Regions from separate parts of the Homo sapiens genome. Here regions 1 and 2 are each linked to region 3. Evidence: promoter capture Hi-C in 16 types of primary human blood cells and fetal thymus (Javierre and others, 2016). All regions are on one chromosome and are shown on one strand. The core of a region is centred on a gene start or on the middle of the fragment in contact, and the rest is flanking DNA. Distances in the headings are between cores, read along the strand shown. Region 1 overlaps NCOA7 (nuclear receptor coactivator 7). Region 2 has its middle 15 kb from the start of TRE-CTC1-7. Region 3 holds the start of RNF217 (ring finger protein 217).

The links. Contacts are between HindIII fragments. The CHiCAGO score rates a contact against its expected background, and 5 or more counts as called.
Region 1: a contact is called between a fragment that was not itself captured here and the fragment with the promoter of RNF217 in region 3, in 1 of 17 cell types (M0 macrophages). The highest score is 5.2, in M0 macrophages.
Region 2: a fragment that was not itself captured here is called in contact with the fragment with the promoter of RNF217 in region 3 in 3 of 17 cell types (M1 macrophages, M0 macrophages and M2 macrophages); the score reaches 9.4 in M1 macrophages.

What each region holds. Positions count from the first base shown.
Region 1 is chr6:125,791,865-125,794,910 of GRCh38, forward strand. The region is part of intron 1 of NCOA7 (nuclear receptor coactivator 7); the gene reads left to right. Among named protein-coding and RNA genes, the nearest start is that of NCOA7, 2.4 kb to the left of the region's middle. The HindIII fragment of the contact is 650 bases long and covers 1,429-2,078 here.
Region 2 is chr6:125,764,239-125,767,203 of GRCh38, forward strand. No RefSeq gene overlaps it. Among named protein-coding and RNA genes, the nearest start is that of TRE-CTC1-7, 15 kb to the right of the region's middle. The HindIII fragment of the contact is 1,937 bases long and covers 500-2,436 here.
Region 3 is chr6:124,960,758-124,963,917 of GRCh38, forward strand. It overlaps RNF217 (ring finger protein 217), which reads left to right and starts at 1,680. Exons shown (of 6, transcript NM_001286398.3): 1 at 1,680-2,669. The coding sequence starts at 1,788. RNF217-AS1 (RNF217 antisense RNA 1) reads right to left here and starts at 2,270. Exons shown (of 7, transcript NR_026876.1): 1 at 2,066-2,270. The HindIII fragment of the contact is 3,639 bases long and covers 1-2,958 here.

The sequences.
Region 1 (3,046 bases), core at 504-3,003, 830 kb after region 3:
CTCCTCTAGGTGTAAAGTTTATACATCAGAGCTTTTGGCAAGATTCCCTCTTCCCAGACTATCATTTTTTATTTTATATTCAGCAATAAGGCTTAAAGTTTTGAAAAATGCATCACTGTAAGCTCCAATTTTATAGTCACTTAGGTATAGAGATTTGGAGAAGTGACTCAGTATAAGCTCAAATAGGACAGAATCTTGAATCTGTTTTTTTTTAAATCCTGTAATCTTCTGCATCTTATGCAGAATAAGTACCCATTAGTTATTTGTTGAATGAATGAACTGTGTTTCAAGCTTTCATCTAAAAACCACAATTTAGAATCACAGAATTGTTCTGTAGCCGGTGAAATTTAATTGAATTTCAAAAATTGCCTCTTTGTATAAATAGGCAAACTCAGTTATTTTAACATTTATATTTCAATTCTGACATCTTTAGGACCATATGCTATCTTTCTGTAATATGTCATCAAGGTTATGAGGTAATTCTCCCCAACTCTTAAGTTCATTTCATGTCTAAGCTTGCAAAATTTCCAGTCTCACTGGTAATCATGCCAACTTCAACTGTGCTCTCAAACACAATTTAAAAAGTAAAAGTCGTGTTTTAAAGAAAATTGTAAGTTACGCCAGAGGAAACAATGATTTGGTTAATAAGTGATGTATTCACTTATTTTAGAGTTGAGTTTTTCAGGTTTGATCTAATTATCATGTCTTTTATCACAGGCAAAAGTAGAAATAAAACATGTAGAAGTGTCTGTGATTCTTAAATGATTCAAAATGTGTGATATAGATACACAATTTAAACTGTTTTCTCCTCGGTATAGAAACACATCAGTTTCCAAATTTGACAGCCAGGGGATTGTGAAATGAGGGTTTGCAAGATACAGTGTCTTCCTGCTTTAAAATGTTATATCATTTTGAAAAAAAAAAAGAAAAACAAGGTTAACTGCATCAAACTTTATTTGCTTTATTTTTACACTATGACATTTTCTGTTTTGATTTCATCTTTTTTCCATCACATGAATTTCATGAGTCAGTGTGAACTTCTTTCAGTCTCTGCTTAACAATATTATCTGGGCATGCTCCCAGGTTTTCTTTCTGACATTTTAATGCATCTTTACCATCTTCACTTCATATTACTCAAATGACTTATTTTTACACAATATGGTAGGCCATACTTTATTACTATTGCTTCTCCAACCTACTTATTTTCTTCCTAGATGGATAAGGAAATAAAACTTTCCTATAAAAGTTAATAAGACTGCAGGAACCAACAGTGGGAGGGAACTTATGAAAAAAATTAATTTGTTATGATTTATTAAAACAAAGCCAAAATTCCCTCCTGTAATAAAGATAATTACATTTTACACTTCTTAAATTTGTAACCCAGGGTATTGAGCAATTAATTTACCTGGCTCTTCCTTGCACACTTTAAGCTTTTCAAAAAAGCCCTCCCCTTTGGTTACAGTAAGCTCTCTTTACCTTGTTACTTATAAGCACTTATTTGTTCATTTTACAAGTAGGAGTTGAGCCTTTAACTGCTCAGTTTAACTGCTATTACTTTGGCTTTGGAATCACAGTCAAATAAAAGCTCTAATCTCAGATTTGAAGAGGTATTTTTCTCTTCTGTGTGTCCTACAACCAAATGCGCAGTGCCTCTGGGATTGGTTGACTCACTTTTGGGTCCTACCTCCTGATCCCCCAGCACTCCGCCCCCACAAGCACCACCAGAATGCAATCCAAGACCTGGATTTCCTCTCTTTATCTTCCTAAAGGCTGTATTTTAGAAACCTCTATTCCTTTCTTGCTAAATGCCATTTACTATTGTTTTTAAAATCCCAGCCCATAATTTTTTGTTTGTTTAAATTCAACAGGATCCACTCAATTCACTTGTGCTAAAATCAGAATTGTTGATTGCAGAAAAAAATATACAGAAGTAAATTTGTATGACCTTGAATTTCAGATATAGTGAATACATAAAGAGTGATTGTTGTCTACTGGTCTCCCCTCAACAGTGATACAAAATGCATTTGTTTCTGTACATGCCAGAGAATATGAATTTTCTGTTGCTAAATTTGATCAGAAGCTTAATTGAGAGAAATGATGTTTACGGGGGGTTGGCTGAACAAAGGCCATGACGTCAACCTATTCCCTTCCAATACTAGCTGTTAGACCAGAAGTCTAGCCAGATCTTCAGAAGCTGTACTTTGGTACCTTGTTTTGCATCCTTAACACCCCCCCATATGCCCACACTGAGGGATTTTATTAATACAGTCAGAGGAAACTTACTATTATGTTACTTTCGAAATGTGGTTATGATCATGGTACTTTCTATAGTTTCTGTTTGAAGACTCATGCAAGAAATTCCATTTAACTTTAAATGCCAAAGAAAAGCTTTACTTACCCTGAACAACTTGTGTGTGTGTGTTTGTGTGTGTTCTTTTCATCATGCAAAATGAGAATCAAATCATTGATTATATTTCCCTTTCTAACTTGGCAACTAGGAAATGAACAAATTTGCAACTCAATTTTAATAATCATATAAAAATTCATAACCTAATATCAATATTTTATCTTTTCCTATGGTCTTGAGCTTCTGTTCTACCTTGTTTTTCTTGATTCTGATGTTTATCTAATTATACTTTTCCATTTGATTGAATTATATTCTTTTAAGATGACTCATATCCTTTGTGGAACAAGGCAGATTATAAAACATAAAACCAAATAAATGAAGCCATTGCACAATTGATCTCTGGACACAGTATGTTTTTGATGAACAAGTTTAATGGGTTACATTAAATGTTTTGAACAAGAATTGCAAATTTAGTACATTTGAACTTAGCCAAATGGAAAACAATGTTACATAGTTTTACAAAACTTTTTTTTAAACTCTTACATTTATATTCACTCATTACTAATTTGAAATTAATAAAGCCATTCAATTTAAGTCAATTATATTTGGAGTACCTGCCTTAAACGCTATATAGGTTGAACAGGAGTTTCAATAGAATAAAGTCATTTTTAGCTGAAGGGCTAGCCTAACTTAGCATAA
Region 2 (2,965 bases), core at 218-2,717, 800 kb after region 3:
AGATCTAAGCACTGACTGAGGCTGTGAATATTTCAGCAACTACAACAAAGCATTGCAGCAAACATGACATCATAAACTGTGACTATAGCTCATATTATTTGGAAGGCTAAATCTTTGAACTTGGTTGGGAGATCTTAAGAAGAAGAAAAGCCCCTGAGCTTACATAGACAGTCTTGCGTGAGGGGCCAGAGGCAGACGGGAAATGGTTCTCTAGGCATGAGGTGGTGCTTTTTCCCATGGCTCCCTTACTTCTAACTTCAAAGGAAAGGAAAGGAAGTGGTCAGGGAATCTGCTCTGACTGTGGGAACCAGTACCCACTGTAAGGTGCAGGTCTGAAAAAGAAAATCAATTATGATACTAACTGCTAATACTGGTCAGTTGTTCTCTATACTAAGCCCCATGCTAAGTGCTTGAAATCTGTTTCTTCATTTAAGCCTCATAACTGTCCTGTAGAGTAGATAATAGTTTACTTACTTACATATTAGGAATTGGAGAATAAAGCTTAATTGTCCAAGGCCATTCCTAGCAGGTTGAGCTTTGAGTTAAACTATCTGAAAACTATCTGATACTTAAATTCATACTTTTGACCTCTAGGCTGTGGCTTTTGACACTGCTTTTTTGGTCTCAGAGTTATCCAGACTCCCCCAGGATTTCAGCCTGCCTAGGATCAGTTTGGACTAAAGATGACAGTAAATCCAGCTACAGTATTATCGTAAAACCACTTCCATCTCACTCTTTTAATATATGAAAGGATGAAAAAAGGAATAACTCCACTTTATAATGCAACATAAAAGGGAAATTATTTTTGGCAGTTCTCTAGTTTTAACTCAACTTTCAATCAAGTCACACGTATCTTTTCTTCATCTATGAGCTTAATCTTTAAAGGCTACCAAAGAAAATTCTATCATCTCACTCAAAGTGGTTGACAAAGGTGTGGCAAAATGGTGAAGTATTAAGGTACTAAGCAAATTGAGTTTGAAAAAAAAAATCATTTCCAATCTTCCATATCTAAAAGATAAGAAATTGTTGTTGTTGTTGTTTAGGGAGAATGCTGGATTATTCTGAATGTTTATACACCATAGGTCCATATGCCATAAAACAAAATTCTTCATTTGACCTATGAAGACCTGTCCAGTAACCCATTCACTTTAATAATTCTTGTTATCAGAAAGGGCCTTTTAACTGACCTAACTCTTCAGCCTAGAGTTAAAGAATGTTTTTGATAGCAGTTAACAGTTAATACGTGTATAATTTTTCAAAAATCTTATGCCCAGAGACGTTTTTAGATGCCTCTAAGTTCTTAGCCTTCTATAAATATCTGGTTTTCTTGACCTTTGTTGTCATTCTGTTAGTGTGTGGAAATGAAGAGATTCATGCATATGAAGTGTGACATGGATGTAACAGAATGTATTATAAGTTTTTTTAAGGGGTAGAAAGAGGTTGAATAACCTTGGCACTTAACTCTAAAGTTTCTTGTATCAAGTTTGCATTGTAAGTCTTGTGTTTTCATTACAATGAAAACAAAGTCACATTTTCTCATGCAGAAGAAAAAGTATTTTGCAAAGAATGGCTATTATTCGTAATGTTTTACTTGTATAAGTGTAGTAATAAATTATGACTCTGAACACAAATGAATATCTTAGTTGCATTAACCCCTCCTTTCCTGATTATAAGCTATCAAGATGAACAGGATTTACCTTCCTAGGTCTTTCAGCACTTCTTTTTTAACCTTTTTCCTTAATTGCAGAGAACCTAAAGACTTTTTTTTTTCTTTTTCCACCAAAACAATGTGCCTGGAGCTTTGCATAGCTCTGTTTGGGTAGACTTTCCCTTATGCCAGCAATGACTGGCTTCTTTCCCTGTCCTAACCAGTCTGTCCCAGCACAGCTGCATCAAATTGGCTTGTCTGGGATCTGGCAAGATGATGGAGACGTGTTTGCAGTCATGAGGGCAAAACACAGAGGCACATAGACCATGACTCTCATGATAACACATTTCTGTCCCAGGCACAAGCCACTCTTAAATGAGAACTAAGCCAGTCACATTTTGATCTTACAAGCAGCCACTGTTAGATTTATTTTATTGTTTTGACATCTTTCTGACAATGAAAACATAAGCATAAAATAGTACAAATGGTTGGGTGTGGTAACTCATGAAAACTCACGTGCAAGCCGAGCACACATGTGCCTGTAGTTCCAAGTACATGGGAGGCTGAGGCAGGAGGATCATTTGAGTCAGGTGTTCAAGGCTGCAATGAGCTATGATTATGCCACTGTGCTCCAGCCTGGGTGACAGAGGGAGGTCCCATCTCAAAAACAAAAACCAAAAAGACCTGTGCAAGCTGGTGACCATCAGATAAGCGAGATGAGGGTATGGCCAAGCTCAGGGGAAAAACCTTGCCTGTGGTAACACGTCTTTTACTGATACTTGGAAGGAAGCTTGAGAGGCTGTTGGGCCCATCTGAAATATATTCATGAGTCCATCACTGCTAAATCATTAAACAGATTTAAGGCATATGTGTTGCATCAAGAGAATAGGCTTAAAACACCAAGTGCCTCCTGACCAAGATGATCATGGGAAACGAGTCTCAGTGCTCAACCCATGAATTATCTGGCCACACTGACCATTTCTCATACCAGAGATACTTTTTTGATGCGATCCTCAAACCCCAAGGATTCCCAAGAGTGGGAGCCACAGACAAAACAACACAGGAACAATAATTCGATATAAATGCATTTAGCCACTTCTCCAAACACCAAGATGCAGCAGACAAGACAATCCCTTTGCTCTGGATATCAGGAGCTTGGACAAAAGAAGAAACAAAGTTCACAAATTGTTTGTCTTTAGGATATGACACAGTGAGAGAAGTGGTGAAAGTTATTTGTTTGTTATGCTTAAATGTATAGTTTAAGAGTTAAAATTCCGGCCTGGCGCAGTGGCTCATGCCTGTAATCCCAGCACTTAG
Region 3 (3,160 bases), core at 430-2,929:
CTTGGTCATCAGATGGCACACTCAAAAGGCACACATAAGTAGGTTTCTTGTCTCTGTCTTTAAAACAATAAGCACTTAAAGTATCATTTGGAGAAAACAGCAGTTACCAGGAAATCACTTAGCTGAGATAAAAAAGAAAAGAATCCTCGAATAGCATTTAATCTTCAAAATAAGAATTTTCCATTCTTGGGTCAGACCGATAGATGACATGGCATTTAGACATCCAATTCATACCTTTGCTTGCAACTGAGCCTCAGACACACATATATGATGGAAATGTTCTTTGGCATTACACTGCTTTCTTAGTTTGCATCGCTAGTCACCTTTGTATCATTTGCATCTGATTTGGAAAATATTTTAGAACAACCCAATAACAACTTCGAGATTAAAAAATAAAATTCTACACACTTTACAGTTCCTTGCTATTACATGAATGTGTAAATTGAATTCCCTCTCAGGAGAAAAAAAACAAAACAAGGGCTGGCTTCCCAAAAATGTTTTCACTGGCTTTAGGGAACTAAAACACCAGTGTCTGGGTGAGTAATACTTCCTGTAAAATAAAGATAGATCAACACATAATTAAGTCCTGGCTCACATATAATTGTTGTTTTGGAAACAGTTTTGAGGATAAATATGGTTATGCTAATGAAACTGCCCATGATTTCCACTAATGATCCAGTTTATTAATTAGGTCAGGACATTTTTCCACCTTGTGCTATCCATTTTGGAATGCTGAAAAGGGTTAAAAAAAAAAACTTCTAAGAGAACACTGTAGGCGAAGAAAAAGAGAGAAATTTTAAATTAGTTATCAACTCTTCTAAGGATTCCAGTTGGAGGAGTAGATCGAAAGTGCTTTTTCGATTATTTATGGGTTTCGAAGATTCTTCCTACTCCACTAGGCAGAAAAACAGAGTTGTAATATACAGCATTTAGAATTCATAATCCTTAGCATTATTTCTCTGAACTCGACATCCTAAATAGCCAGCGTTTACTAATTCCAGAGCTGAGTGTAGTTTTGTAGGAAGTTCTACTGAATGCGGAGACCAAAGGGGAGCCTGCCTGCTCTGAGGGTTTTGTTGAGGCTGAGTGTGAACTCCGGGCGAGAAAGCGCATCTCAGCTCTTAGATCACACCCACTCAGGGTGTGCGTGTGTGTGTGCGCGGGTGCCTGCGCGCGTGTGTACGTGTGGGGAGGTGTGCGCCAAAGGGGTGGGGTGAGGGGCGGCGAGGAGGGCTGTAGGTGAAGCGCGGGGAGAGGGAGGTCGCCCGCTCCGGCCTCTCCCCCAGGGGCCCTGCGGCTGGCCAGCGCTCCGGCTGCACCTCCTGGTGCGCGCCGCGGCGGCGCCACAGGCCCCTCGACCCTTTGACCACCGCCCTCGGGCCGCGCGTCCGGCAGCCGGGACCGGTGATGGCGCGGGACTGACGGCCGTCTCCTCCCAGACCCCTCTGTCCCGCCTGGGGCTCGCTGGGGCTGCGGCGCCGCCCCGAGCTGCATGTGGGGCGGGCGCGCCCGAGCCCAGAGCGAGCGGCCCTCGGCGCCCCCGAGGCGGTGCCCCGCCGCGCCAGAGTACGAGGAGGAGCGGCGGGCCGGGCCAGGCTCCCCACGCGCCGCAGCCTCGGAGCACGGGCTCCCCGGAGGGGACTTGGGGCGTCCCAGCCCAGGAGGAAGGACCCGGAAGCAGAAGCGGAGCCGCGAGTCGAGCCGAGCCACTGCCCCCGCTGCCCGCGGGCGCCGGGTGGGGGTCCCGGCGGCTGGATGGGCAGCGGCGGCGCGGGCCGCGGGCGGCGATGGGCGAGGAGCAGAGCACGGTGAGCGGCGGCGGCGGGCCCCAGGAGTCGCAGACCCTGGCCAGTGGCACTGCGGGCCACCCTGAGCCCCCGAGGCCTCAGGGGGACAGCGCCCGGGCGCCCCCGCTGCGCGCCGCCTCCGCGGAGCCGAGCGGCGGTGGCTGCGGAAGCGACTGGGGCTGCGCGGACACCAGCGCCCCAGAGCCCGCGAGGAGCCTGGGGCCCCCGGGCTGGAGTAAGAGCCGAGCACCGGCGCAGCCTGCGGGACTGGCACTCACCGGGCCTCTCAATCCCCAGACCTTGCCACTGCAGTTGGAGCTGGAGGAGGAAGAGGAGGAAGCTGGGGATCGAAAAGAGGGAGGGGATGAACAGCAGGAGGCGCCCCCCGGCGAAGAGCTGGAGCCCAGGACCCGCGTGGGGGCCGCCGACGGACTGGTCCTGGACGTGCTGGGTCAGCGGCGCCCGTCCCTCGCCAAGAGACAAGTCTTCTGCTCCGTGTACTGCGTGGAGAGCGACCTGCCCGAGGCCCCCGCCTCGGAGCAGCTCTCGCCGCCCGCGTCGCCACCTGGGGCTCCGCCAGTGTTGAACCCTCCCAGCACCCGCTCTTCCTTCCCCAGCCCCCGACTGTCCCTCCCAACGGATTCCCTCTCCCCCGACGGCGGCAGCATCGAGCTGGAGTTCTACCTGGCGCCCGAGCCGTTCTCCATGCCCAGCCTGTTGGGAGCTCCACCCTACTCTGGCCTGGGCGGTGTAGGGGATCCCTATGTGCCCCTCATGGTGCTGATGTGCCGGGTGTGCCTGGAAGACAAGCCCATCAAGCCCCTGCCTTGCTGCAAGAAGGCCGTGTGCGAGGAGTGCCTCAAAGTCTACCTGAGCGCCCAGGTAACTTCACCCCCTTCTCTTCCCCATTTATCATTCCAAATCACTGGCGAGGAGGTCCTGCTCTCGATCTGATCTCCCTGCTCGCGCGAAGAGGTGACCGACACACTTACTGAGGATCTCTGTTAGTTTCTCACGTCTCAGTTGTTATTTAAGTGTATTATGACCTCACTGGTTTACTTAACTGGAATTTAACTTTGCTGTGAACTTCAGGCTATGGTTGGCATGTGTAGAAGGCACAAGATACAAGTTGTTGCCCTCCTCTTATTTCTTATACAGGATTGCAAGCACAAGCTTGCTCAAAGGAGGAGAGGAAGAGACTGCCTCATCGGCCTGGTATCCCAGAAACTAACAAGCAGTGGGCATAGAATAAATATTTATGGAGCTGGTGGAGAAAAGAATTGGAATAAATATTTCAGACCCATAATACATGAATTTGTAATTTTGCTTCATTTGTATATTCCAGGAAAGAGTGAATGTTTAAAAAAATGTAT